3 separate regions of the Homo sapiens genome follow, and all the other regions are linked to region 3. The links are contacts of gene promoters, found by promoter capture Hi-C in human tissues and cell types (Jung and others, 2019). All regions are on one chromosome and are shown on one strand. The core of a region is centred on a gene start or on the middle of the fragment in contact, and the rest is flanking DNA. Distances in the headings are between cores, read along the strand shown. Region 1 overlaps SPPL3 (signal peptide peptidase like 3). Region 2 has its middle 30 kb from the start of XLOC_009911. Region 3 holds the start of POP5 (POP5 ribonuclease P/MRP subunit).

Region 1 (3,220 bases), core at 664-3,163, 280 kb after region 3:
ATGTAAAAGAGTAAATATTTTAGGCACTGTAAGTAATATGGTCTCTGTGACAACTACAGTCCTCCCTATCTTTGGGGGACTGGTTCCAGGACAACCCCCTACTCCCCTTCTAGATACTAAAATCCTTGGATGCTCCAGTCCCTTATAAAACAGTGTAGTATTTACATACAACCTACACACATCCACCTGTATACTTTTTTCCTCCTCCCATTTCAGGGCTCCACAGGACTCTCATATACTTTAAATCATCGCTATATTACTTACAATACATAGTACAATGAAAACGCTATATAAATACCTGTTTTACCATATTGTTTTCATTTGTATTACTTTTGTTTTTTCTCCCTCAAATATTTTTTATCTGAGGTTGACTAAATCATGAATGTGGAACCCACAGAGACAGGGCCAACTGTTCTCAAATCAACTCTGCCATTCTAGCATGAAAGCAGCCATAGATGATATGTAAACAAATGGGCATGGCTGTGTTACAATAAAGCTTTATTTACAAAAACAGGTTGTAGGTCAGATTTGGCTTGCAGGCCATAGTTTGCTTATTCTTAAATGAGAACATGCTAGAAAAACAGAAAAAGGAAGGAGACAAAGTACAAAAATTCTCCAAAAGGACAGATCCTTGAAAAGGGTGTTGGCAATAAATAACAGGAAGGGAAAAAGAGTAAGATTTTTTTTTATCAGTGTGGTCTATATTTCATCTAGCTACTCCAGCAGCCACATTTCTGGTCATATTTTAAACAGGCTGTGGTAGATCCTTGCATTACTACTGTCAACTACAATGCCCTGAAGACATACCACACAGGTCAGATGTCTTCATTGAAACGCATCCTAGCAGCGGACTGAGTCCTGGTTTATCTGGCAGGGGAGTACGCTGACTGATATTACTCAGTATACAATCACCTCTCTGGCAGATTTAAAAATCATATGCCTGAAATTGTAACATATAAAAACCAATCCAATCTTCTAACAGGTTATCTTATTCCTTGTTACTTGTATTATGAAATGATTTCTGATACCCAAGATTTCTGAGATACCAAAAGGAGAGAACAGAAGGGCTGTGAGGGAGTTAGGGGTAAGAGAGGGACTGGGAACTCAAAGGATTGGGAATATCACTTTGGGCTGTAGTGCTCAACATCTTCATGTCTTCAATTCTAGAATTTTGAGCAACATACTTGAAGGTATTAAGATTCCAAAACAATAGTAAATAAGTGAACATGAATTACAATGTAGGCAGTACTACAGAAAATAATGTCCACAGTGTCCAGAGAAGTAGTTTTCAAACTTTTTAGTTCAGGACTCTTGTTGAGGACCCCAAAGGGCATTTGTTTATATAGATTATACTTCCTGATATTTACCATATTAGACATTGAAACTGTGAATATGAAAAATATTTATTCATTTTAAAATAAACTCATTATACATTAACATAAATTACACATATTTCTATGATCTGTTTCTACTCTTAACACTTCTGACACCAAATGTGTGGGTTTTTTCCATGTCAATAACCAATTTTCCAATAATAATTAGATGTTCATCAATTCAATTCTGACACTATTACCCAAAGGTGTCACAGGCCCTGCATGTTAAGGGCTAGGTCTCATGAGATTGCCTCTATTTCAGGTGCCGGTATCAAGTCCAGGTCACCCGTACTTCTGACTCATCAGCTACAAAGTTAGGGGTTTCCACAATCCCTTTCTCAGGTTTGACCATTTGCTAGGATGGCTCACTGAACTCAGGAAAACAATTTACTTACTATTGTTGGTTTATTATAAAGGATACAACTCAGGAGCAGAAAAATAAAAGACATGCACAGGGCAAGGAATGGAGGGCTGAGAGGAGTATGCAAAGTTTCCATGCCTTCGGTGGGTGCACTGTCCTCCCAGCACCAGTTCACAAGTCCAGAAGCTCTCAGAACTCAATTTTTAAGGATTTTTTGGAGGTTCCATTACACAGGCATGATTGATTAAATCACTGGCCTTTCCTGGCTGGGCTCAATCTCCAACCCCTCTCCCCTCTGCAGAGGTTGAGGGAAGGGGTTATATTTCCAACCCTCTATTGGTTCTTCTAGCAACCAGTCATCATCCAGAAGCTATTTAGGAGCCCACTAAGACTCAGCTCATTAGCATAAACTCAGGTAGGGTTGAAAGGGACTTCTCATGAATAACAAAAGATGCTCCTCTCTCCTCTATCACGAAATTCTAAGGGCTTTATTATAAAAGCTATTATGCCAGGAACCTGGGATAAAGACCAAATATATATTTATCACAACATCTAGGCCAGGCATGGTGGCACACACCTGTAATCCCAGCACTCTGGGAGGCTGAGGTGGGTGGATCACCTGAGGTCAGGAGTTTGAGACCAGCCTGGCCAACATGGTGAAACCCTATCTTTACTAAAAATACAAAAATTAGCTGGGTGTGGTGGTGCATGCCTATAATCCCGGCTACTCCAGAGGCTAAGCCAGAAGAATCACTTGAACCCAGGAGGCAGAGGTTGCAGTGAGCTGAGATCACACCACTGCACCCCAGCCTGGGTGACAGAGCGAGACTCCATCTCAAAAGAAAAAAAAAAAAAGTTTTAATGAAAAATAACTCTTTTGAAAGTAAAAATTAGTGAGAGGAATGGTACCGTTTTACATTTCTGCAAATATCTTTAATGTCTGGCTTAATCGAAGTCAGCAGTATTCTCGTATCTGCTTCGGCATTTAATCTGTACTATGATATATAGTTTGGTTCAAGTACATGAAGAAAATTCAACTGCATGCATATCTATAGTTTAAAATGTGAGTGGTATTTTAAGAGCCTTTCAGGTAATCGTAGATATTATTCTTCAATACTGAAATGAAATTCTACAGATGGTAGGTTTTTTAATTCTTTTTGAAATGTATTCTCGTTTTATTGCTCAGGCTGGAGTGATCACAGCTGACTGTAGCCTCGAACTCCTGGGCTGAAGCTATCCTCCTGCCTCAACCTCCCAAGTAGCTAGGCCCACAGGGTCAAGTCACCACATTTAGCTTTTTTTTTTTTTTTTCTTGTAGCTTTCTTTTTCTTTTCTTTTCTTTTTTTCTTGCAGAGATGGAGCCTTGCTTGCTGCCCAGGCTGGTTTTGAAATCCTGGCCTCCAGCAATCCTCCCACCTTGGCCTCCCAAGGTGCTGAGATCCCGGGCATGAGCTACCACACCCAGCCTAGATGGTAGTTTCCTAAA
Region 2 (3,223 bases), core at 595-3,094, 350 kb after region 3:
GTGGTGGCAGCATGCAGCTGTAGTCCAAACTACTCGGGAGGCTGAGGCATAAGAATTGCTTTAACCTGGGAAGTGGAGATTGCAGTGAGCAGAGATCATGCCACTGCACTCCAGCCTAGGCAACAGAGCAAGATTGTCTCAAAAAAAAAAAAAAAAAAAGGGTGCAACGGAAGTGAAGTCACAGAGGAGAAAATGCTGTCCTAACTTAGGGCTGGACAGTTCTTTTTAGAGCTGGGGTTGACCGGGCAGGGTCAGGTTTATGAGAGGACACTGAAGCCACGCGTAGAAGAGGCGTGTGGACTCTGCCAGCTGTCAGCACACCGGGCTGTCACGATGCACTCAGGTTCCAATAATGTGCTGAGAATGCAGGAAAGGCAGCTCAGGGCTTTATAGACTCGCTGCCCCCAGTCCATCCAGAGGCCCAGAGAGGCCAAGCTACTCACCCAAGGACACACAGGCCTTGAAATCTGATACTTTCTGAATCCCAGCACTGCATGGCCTTTGCGTTCTGTGAGTGGCTCACACTGGGGAGCTGGTGACACCCTGACATGGGCTCCATACTTGCTGCTCCTTCTGCTTTTCTTCCAGTGGCACACTTGAGGGATGCAGGGACTCACATAGGACCAATTCCTGCCCCACTGTGTCCCCTAAGTAACCCACATCCAAAATATATCCCGAATTCAGCCATTTTCCTTCTTAGGTCAATTCATTCCTTCTCTCTCTCTCTTTCTCTCTCTCTCCTCTGTCAGAGAGACAGGGTCTTGCTCTGTCACCCAGGCTGGAGTGCAGTGATGTGGTACAATCATAGCTCACTGCAGCCTTGAATTTCTGAGCTCAAGCAATCCTCTTGCCTCAGCCTCCCAACTAGTTGAACTACAGGCATGTGCCACTGCATCCAGCCAAGTTTTTTTTGTTTTTGTTTTTAGTAGAGACAAAGTCTCGTCATGTTGCCCAGGCTGGTCTCAAACCCCTGGGGTCAAGCAATCCTCCTGCCTTGGCCTCCCAAAGTGCTGGGATTACAGGCTTGAGCCATGGCGCTGCCACCGCCTACTCCTCCTCCTCCTCCTCCTCTTCCTCTTCTTCTTCCTCTTCTTTTTTTTTTTTTTTGAGTTGTACAAGAAAATGAGAGGCCAAAGGCCCGTGATTTACAGGCAGCCTGGTGGAGGAGAAGTGGTGTGTAGTGCTGTTACATGGTCTCTAGGGCCATATACTCCGGTTTGAGTTTCTAGTTCTTTGACTATATGACTGTGGCTAAGCAATGAAGCTTTCTAGACCTGCGTTCTCATTCATTAAATAGGAATGATAACACCTCATAAGTATCTAAATGAGATACTGTAGGTAAGTGTACATCATAGAATTTTAAATCTGGTAAGTGTGTGGTAGGCTGAATAATAACCCCTAAAAGATGTCCAGGTCCTGCCGGGAGCAGGCTCACACCTGTAATCCCAGCACTTTGGGAAGCCAAGGTGGCGGGATCACCTGAGGTTGGGAGTTCAAGACCAGCCTGACCAACATGGAGAAACCCCCTCTCTACTAAAAATACAAAATCAGCTGGCCGTGGTGGCACATGCCTGTAATCCCAGCTACTCAGGAAGCTGAGGCAGGAGAATTTCTTGAACCCGTGAGGTGGAGGTTGCGTTGAGCCAAGATCGCGCCATTGCACTCCAGCCTGCGCAACAAGAGCAAAACTCTGTCTCAAAAAAAAAAAAAAGATGTCCATGTCCTAATCTCTAGAACTCTAGAACCTATGATTATAGGAAAGGAGACTTTGTAGATGCATCAAATTAATATTTTTGAGATGAGGAGATTATCCTGGATTATCTAGCCCAATATAATCACACAGGTCCTTGGAAGAGGTGGGCACACCAGAGTGAGCGGTAGCAGATTTGACGATGGAAACAAGAGGTTGTAGTGATCGATGAAGGGAATGTGAGCCAAGGAATGCAGGTGGTCCTCTAGAAGATGAAAAAGGCAAGGACACATTCTTCCCTCAGAGCCCTCACAGGGAACTAGCCCTATAAAACCGATGTCAGATTCATGACCTCCGCAACTATGAGAATAAGCTTGTGTAAAGTCAATATTTGTGGTAATTTCTACAGCAGCAGTAGGAAACTAATATAGGATGTTACTCACATTTATTCATTTGTTTACTTATTTATGAGACAAAGTCTCGCTCTGTTCAGGCTGGAGTGCGGTGGTGTGATCTCGGCTCACTGCAACCTCCGCTTCTCAGGTTCAAGTGATTCTTCTGCCTCAGCCTCCCAAGTAGCTGGGATTACAAGTGTGCACCACTACAGCTGGCTCATTTTTATATTTTTAGTAGAGATGGGGTTTCACTATGTTGGCCAGGCTGGTCTTGAACTCTTGGTCTCAAGTGATCTGCCTGCCTCAGCCTCCCAAAGTGCCAGGATTACAGGCATGAGCCACCGTGCCCAGCCTCTTCTTCTTTTCTTCTTCCTTCTCCTCCTCCTTTTTTGATTGAGATATAGTTCACAAACTATAAAATTCACCCTTTTAAAGTGTGCAATTCAGTGGTTTTTAGTGTAGCTATCAACTTGCCCAACCACTTTCATAATCTACTTCCAAACCATTTTTATCTTCCCCAAAGAAACCCCACACCCATTCACCGTCATTCCCCATTCTCTCACCACCCCCAACCTCAAGCCCTTGTCAACATCTAATCTAATTTCTATCTCTATGGAGATGCCTATTCTGGACATTGCATATAAATGGAATCATACGATTTACAGTCTTCTGTGTCTGGCTTCTTTCACTCTGCAGAATGTTTTCAAGGTTCATCCATGTTGCAGTGTGTCAGTACTGCATTCCTCTTTTTTTTTTTTTTTTTTTTTTTTTTTTTTGAGACAGACTCTTGCTCTGTTGCCCAGGCTGGAGTGCAGTGGCACGATCTCAGCTCACTGCAACCTCCGCCTCCTAGGCTTAAGCAATTCTCATGCTTCAGCCTCCCGAGTAGCTGGGATTACAGGCCTGTGCCACCACACCCGGCTAATGTTTGTATTTTTAGTAGAGATGAGATTTTACCAGGTTGGCCAGGCTGATCTTGAACTCCTGGCCTCAAGTGATCCACCCACATTGGCCTCCCAAAGTGCTGGGATTACAGGCATGAGCCACTGTGCCCAGCTGCATTGCTTGTTATGGTCAGAATGATTCTATTGTACAGATAGGCCACATTCTGTTCCCTCGGTGGATGGACATTTGGGTT
Region 3 (3,228 bases), core at 396-2,895:
TACCACCTCACTCCTACCTCCCACATGTAATGTGTTGAAAAAGCATGGGTAACGGTGTCCTTTGTTCTCCAAGTATGTGATGAAGGGAAGAGCTGACCACACAAGCTGATAGAATTCTTTTCTGCATCGAAGTAGCACTATTCCAGTATAGGCATTGAGATATCGAACTACAACAGGAAAGAAAAATCATTTTGGAAAACTTTTGCTCTGTGTGGTGGCTCACGCCTGTAATCCCAGCACTTTGGGAGGCTGAGGCGGGCAGATCACTTTAAGTCAGGAGTTCGAGGCCAGCCTGGCCAACATGATGAAACCCCGTCTCTACTAAAAATACAAAAATTAGCTGGGTGTGGTGGTGCGCACCTGTAATTCCAGCCACTCAGGAGGCTGAGGCATGAGAATCGCCTGAACCCAGGAGGCAGAGGCAGCAATGACCCCCGATCTCGCTGCTGCACTCCAGCAGCCTGGGCAACAGCCAGACTGTCTCGAAAAAAGGAAAACTTTGGAGTAACAGAGCCTACTATGTGCCAAAAGTATGTTGTAGGCAAGTGGCACGTAGATCTATCAGCGAGTAAAAGAGAAAAGCCAAAACACCCACTGTGTTGCACACCACTCAGAACTGGTGAATGAATTTAGAATTGAAAATGCTTTCTAATTCACTAGTTAATTCAATAAATAGGAGCAGGTAGGAGGCGATCCGTTTTAATTTAGGAAAAACCCCCACAAAACCCTTGCCTGAAAAACAGGCTGTTTTACTGCATTTGGGCTCCGTAATTATTGTAGCAGTCAGCTCTCAGTCTCACCTGACTTAGGAGAGTTAAGTCTATCTGCATTTAACTCTCCAGAAGTCAATCTCAAACAAGGTTAAAGTGGGAACTAATTTAAGTGGTGTGAAAGAAGGGCCCCTCTGTCCTAGCTCATCCTGTATTTACATATATTGACAATCATGTGTTCTGTACTTTACCAACTATTTAAGGGCTTTCCCGGAGTACTTTTGACAATTTTTTTCCATATGATGTTAATGTAATCGGTCATATAATAGCTCTTACTAGGAAGTATACACAGCTTCCCTCATTTAATTCTCTACCCTATCAAATTCAATCACAACCAATTACAGAAATTACCTGTCAAGCAGGTAAAAAGAGGCTTCTAGCTCAAAGCCCCACTGCCTTCGGGCCCCTCCTTTTAGCGCTCTGCTAATTTCGGACTCTCGCTTGGGGTCCCAGGCGCTTAAAGAGATACCTTACAAAAAACGGTGCACGGGCTTGGCCACTCGTGCCCCTTCTTTCTTCCTCCGGCGCCTGCCCCCTCCACATCCCGCCATCCTCCCGGGTTCCCCTCTTCCCCCAGCGCCCTTGCACCCGCGAAGCCGATGGAGCAGGCGGCTGCGCCGAAAGTTCCGTGCACCCTGGCGATCGTGTCCCGTACGAGGCTGCTCAGAACTCGGTCATCGAGGCTTAGGCGGCAGCGGGGGTCGTCAGACACCAGTTCGCAGAGCAGGTACCTGCGGCAGGCGAGAGGAAGGTGGACACTAGCGGGGCCGCGAGGACCCAGCAAGGCACTGGGAGGGTCTGGAAGGGAATGCTTACCTGTGCTTGAACCGCACCATGGCTGCCTCCGCGCTCTCCGGTCCGGCGTGCAAACCGGATGTGAATTCTGTCCGCTGCCAATGGGAAGCTTGCTTCCGCAGCCTTTCAGCCATTCAGAGAAGGAGACAGGATATTAGGGCGGAGCTAGAAAGTTGAGAGGCCGAAGTCTGTCAGCTCTCTCAAGCCCCGCCCAACTGCGTTTGTAAGCGCGCATGCGTCCTGCGGAGGGTCACTGACTAGTTTGAGGGCTGAACCCCGGGATGGAGCGCCTTGCAGCTGTAATGGATGGTTCTGTTGCACACTGAAGTTTACAATAGTGTGTAGGATGTAGCCGCTACCCTTGGGGCCCTGGGAACCTTGCACCACAGTTATGTATGCGAGTATATTCTCTCCCCAAGGTGAACGGTGGAGCTTTTGAGGGCAAGACCCTGCACCTCACAGCCCAGGCATTGACAAACGGGAAATCGGACTTTTATTTTCAGGTTTGAGCTCAGTTTAATTCTTCCATACAGCTAAATATGCTATTGCTGTTTGGGCCTTTCAGCAATCTTAGGGAGGCGAGTGTGCCGTCTCGTTTTTTGCTCGCAGAAACAATACGTGGTCATTGTATTTTCCATTTCCGTTTACCTTTTTTTTTTGACAGAAAAGCACAAAGAAGCAAATAAATTATAATCCCAGCACTGAGAGAGAATAACTGTTGTCGTGTAGTGTGTTTTCTTCTGTCATTTTCTCCCTGCGCCAGTGGTTCTCAAAGTGCCGTCTGGGGACCACTGAGATTTCCTAAATTCACTCGATTTGGGAGTCCCCGAAGTCAAAATTACTTTCATAATAATGCTAAGATGTTACTTGTCTTTTTCATTCTCTCTGAGTGAACAGTCAAGTTTTCCAGAGGCTGCTTGACGTGATGACGTCACTGCTCTAGGAATTGTGTATTGTTTTTTAAACGTTTCTCAACTTTAATGTCCATAGTAAATATAACCCACAAAACTAAAAGCTCTTGGGCACCCTCAGTAACGTGTGTAAAGGGGTCCTGAGACAGAGAAAACAGCTTGAGAACTATGCCCTCTGTTAAATTATGTTTTTTCTTTTATTTTTAAGTATTTTAAAAAAAATGTCTTATGGGGTATTACATAAAGTACATATTCTTAAGTGTATTCATCTCAATGAATTTTTACATATGGATAGACTTCTATAACCACCTCCAAGATTAAAATAAAGAGCATTTCCAGTATCCCAGAAGGTTCCCTGAGCCCTCTTCCAGTCAAATTGCTTACTGCTATCAGCCACTATTACCACTTCTACCCTGCTAGATTAATTTTGCCTGTTCTTAAACTTTATATAAATGCAGCCAGGAGGCTGGCTGCAACCTCTGCCTCCTGAGTTCAAGCGATTCTCCTGCCTCAGCCTCCCGAGTAGCTGGGATTACAGGCACCTGCCACCACGACCAGCTAATTTTTGTATTTATTTATTTAGTTTTTTGAGACGGAGTCTCACTCTGTTGCCCAAGCTGGAGCACGATCTCAGCTCACTGCAACCTCTGCCTCCTGGATTCAGGCGATTCTCCTGCCTCAGCCTCCCAAGTAGCTGGGACTACAGGTGTGTGCCACCACAACTGGCTAATTTTTGTATTTTTAGTAGGGAC

What was found. Contacts are between HindIII fragments. The study calls those that stand out against the background at their distance.
Region 1: a contact is called between a fragment that was not itself captured here and the fragment with the promoter of POP5 in region 3, in 1 of the 25 tissues and cell types used here (neural progenitor cells).
Region 2: a fragment that was not itself captured here is called in contact with the fragment with the promoter of POP5 in region 3 in 2 of the 25 tissues and cell types used here (mesenchymal stem cells and pancreas).

The regions. Positions count from the first base shown.
Region 1 is chr12:120,860,777-120,863,996 of GRCh38, forward strand. All of the region lies in intron 1 of SPPL3 (signal peptide peptidase like 3), which reads right to left. Among named protein-coding and RNA genes, the nearest start is that of SPPL3, 42 kb to the right of the region's middle. The HindIII fragment of the contact is 8,740 bases long and covers 1-3,220 here.
Region 2 is chr12:120,932,883-120,936,105 of GRCh38, forward strand. No RefSeq gene overlaps it. Among named protein-coding and RNA genes, the nearest start is that of XLOC_009911, 30 kb to the left of the region's middle. The HindIII fragment of the contact is 5,842 bases long and covers 1-3,223 here.
Region 3 is chr12:120,579,757-120,582,984 of GRCh38, forward strand. POP5 (POP5 ribonuclease P/MRP subunit) reads right to left here and starts at 1,646. Exons shown (of 5, transcript NM_015918.4): 1 at 1,587-1,646; 2 at 1,359-1,501; 3 at 18-167. The coding sequence starts at 1,606. The HindIII fragment of the contact is 9,700 bases long and covers 1-3,228 here.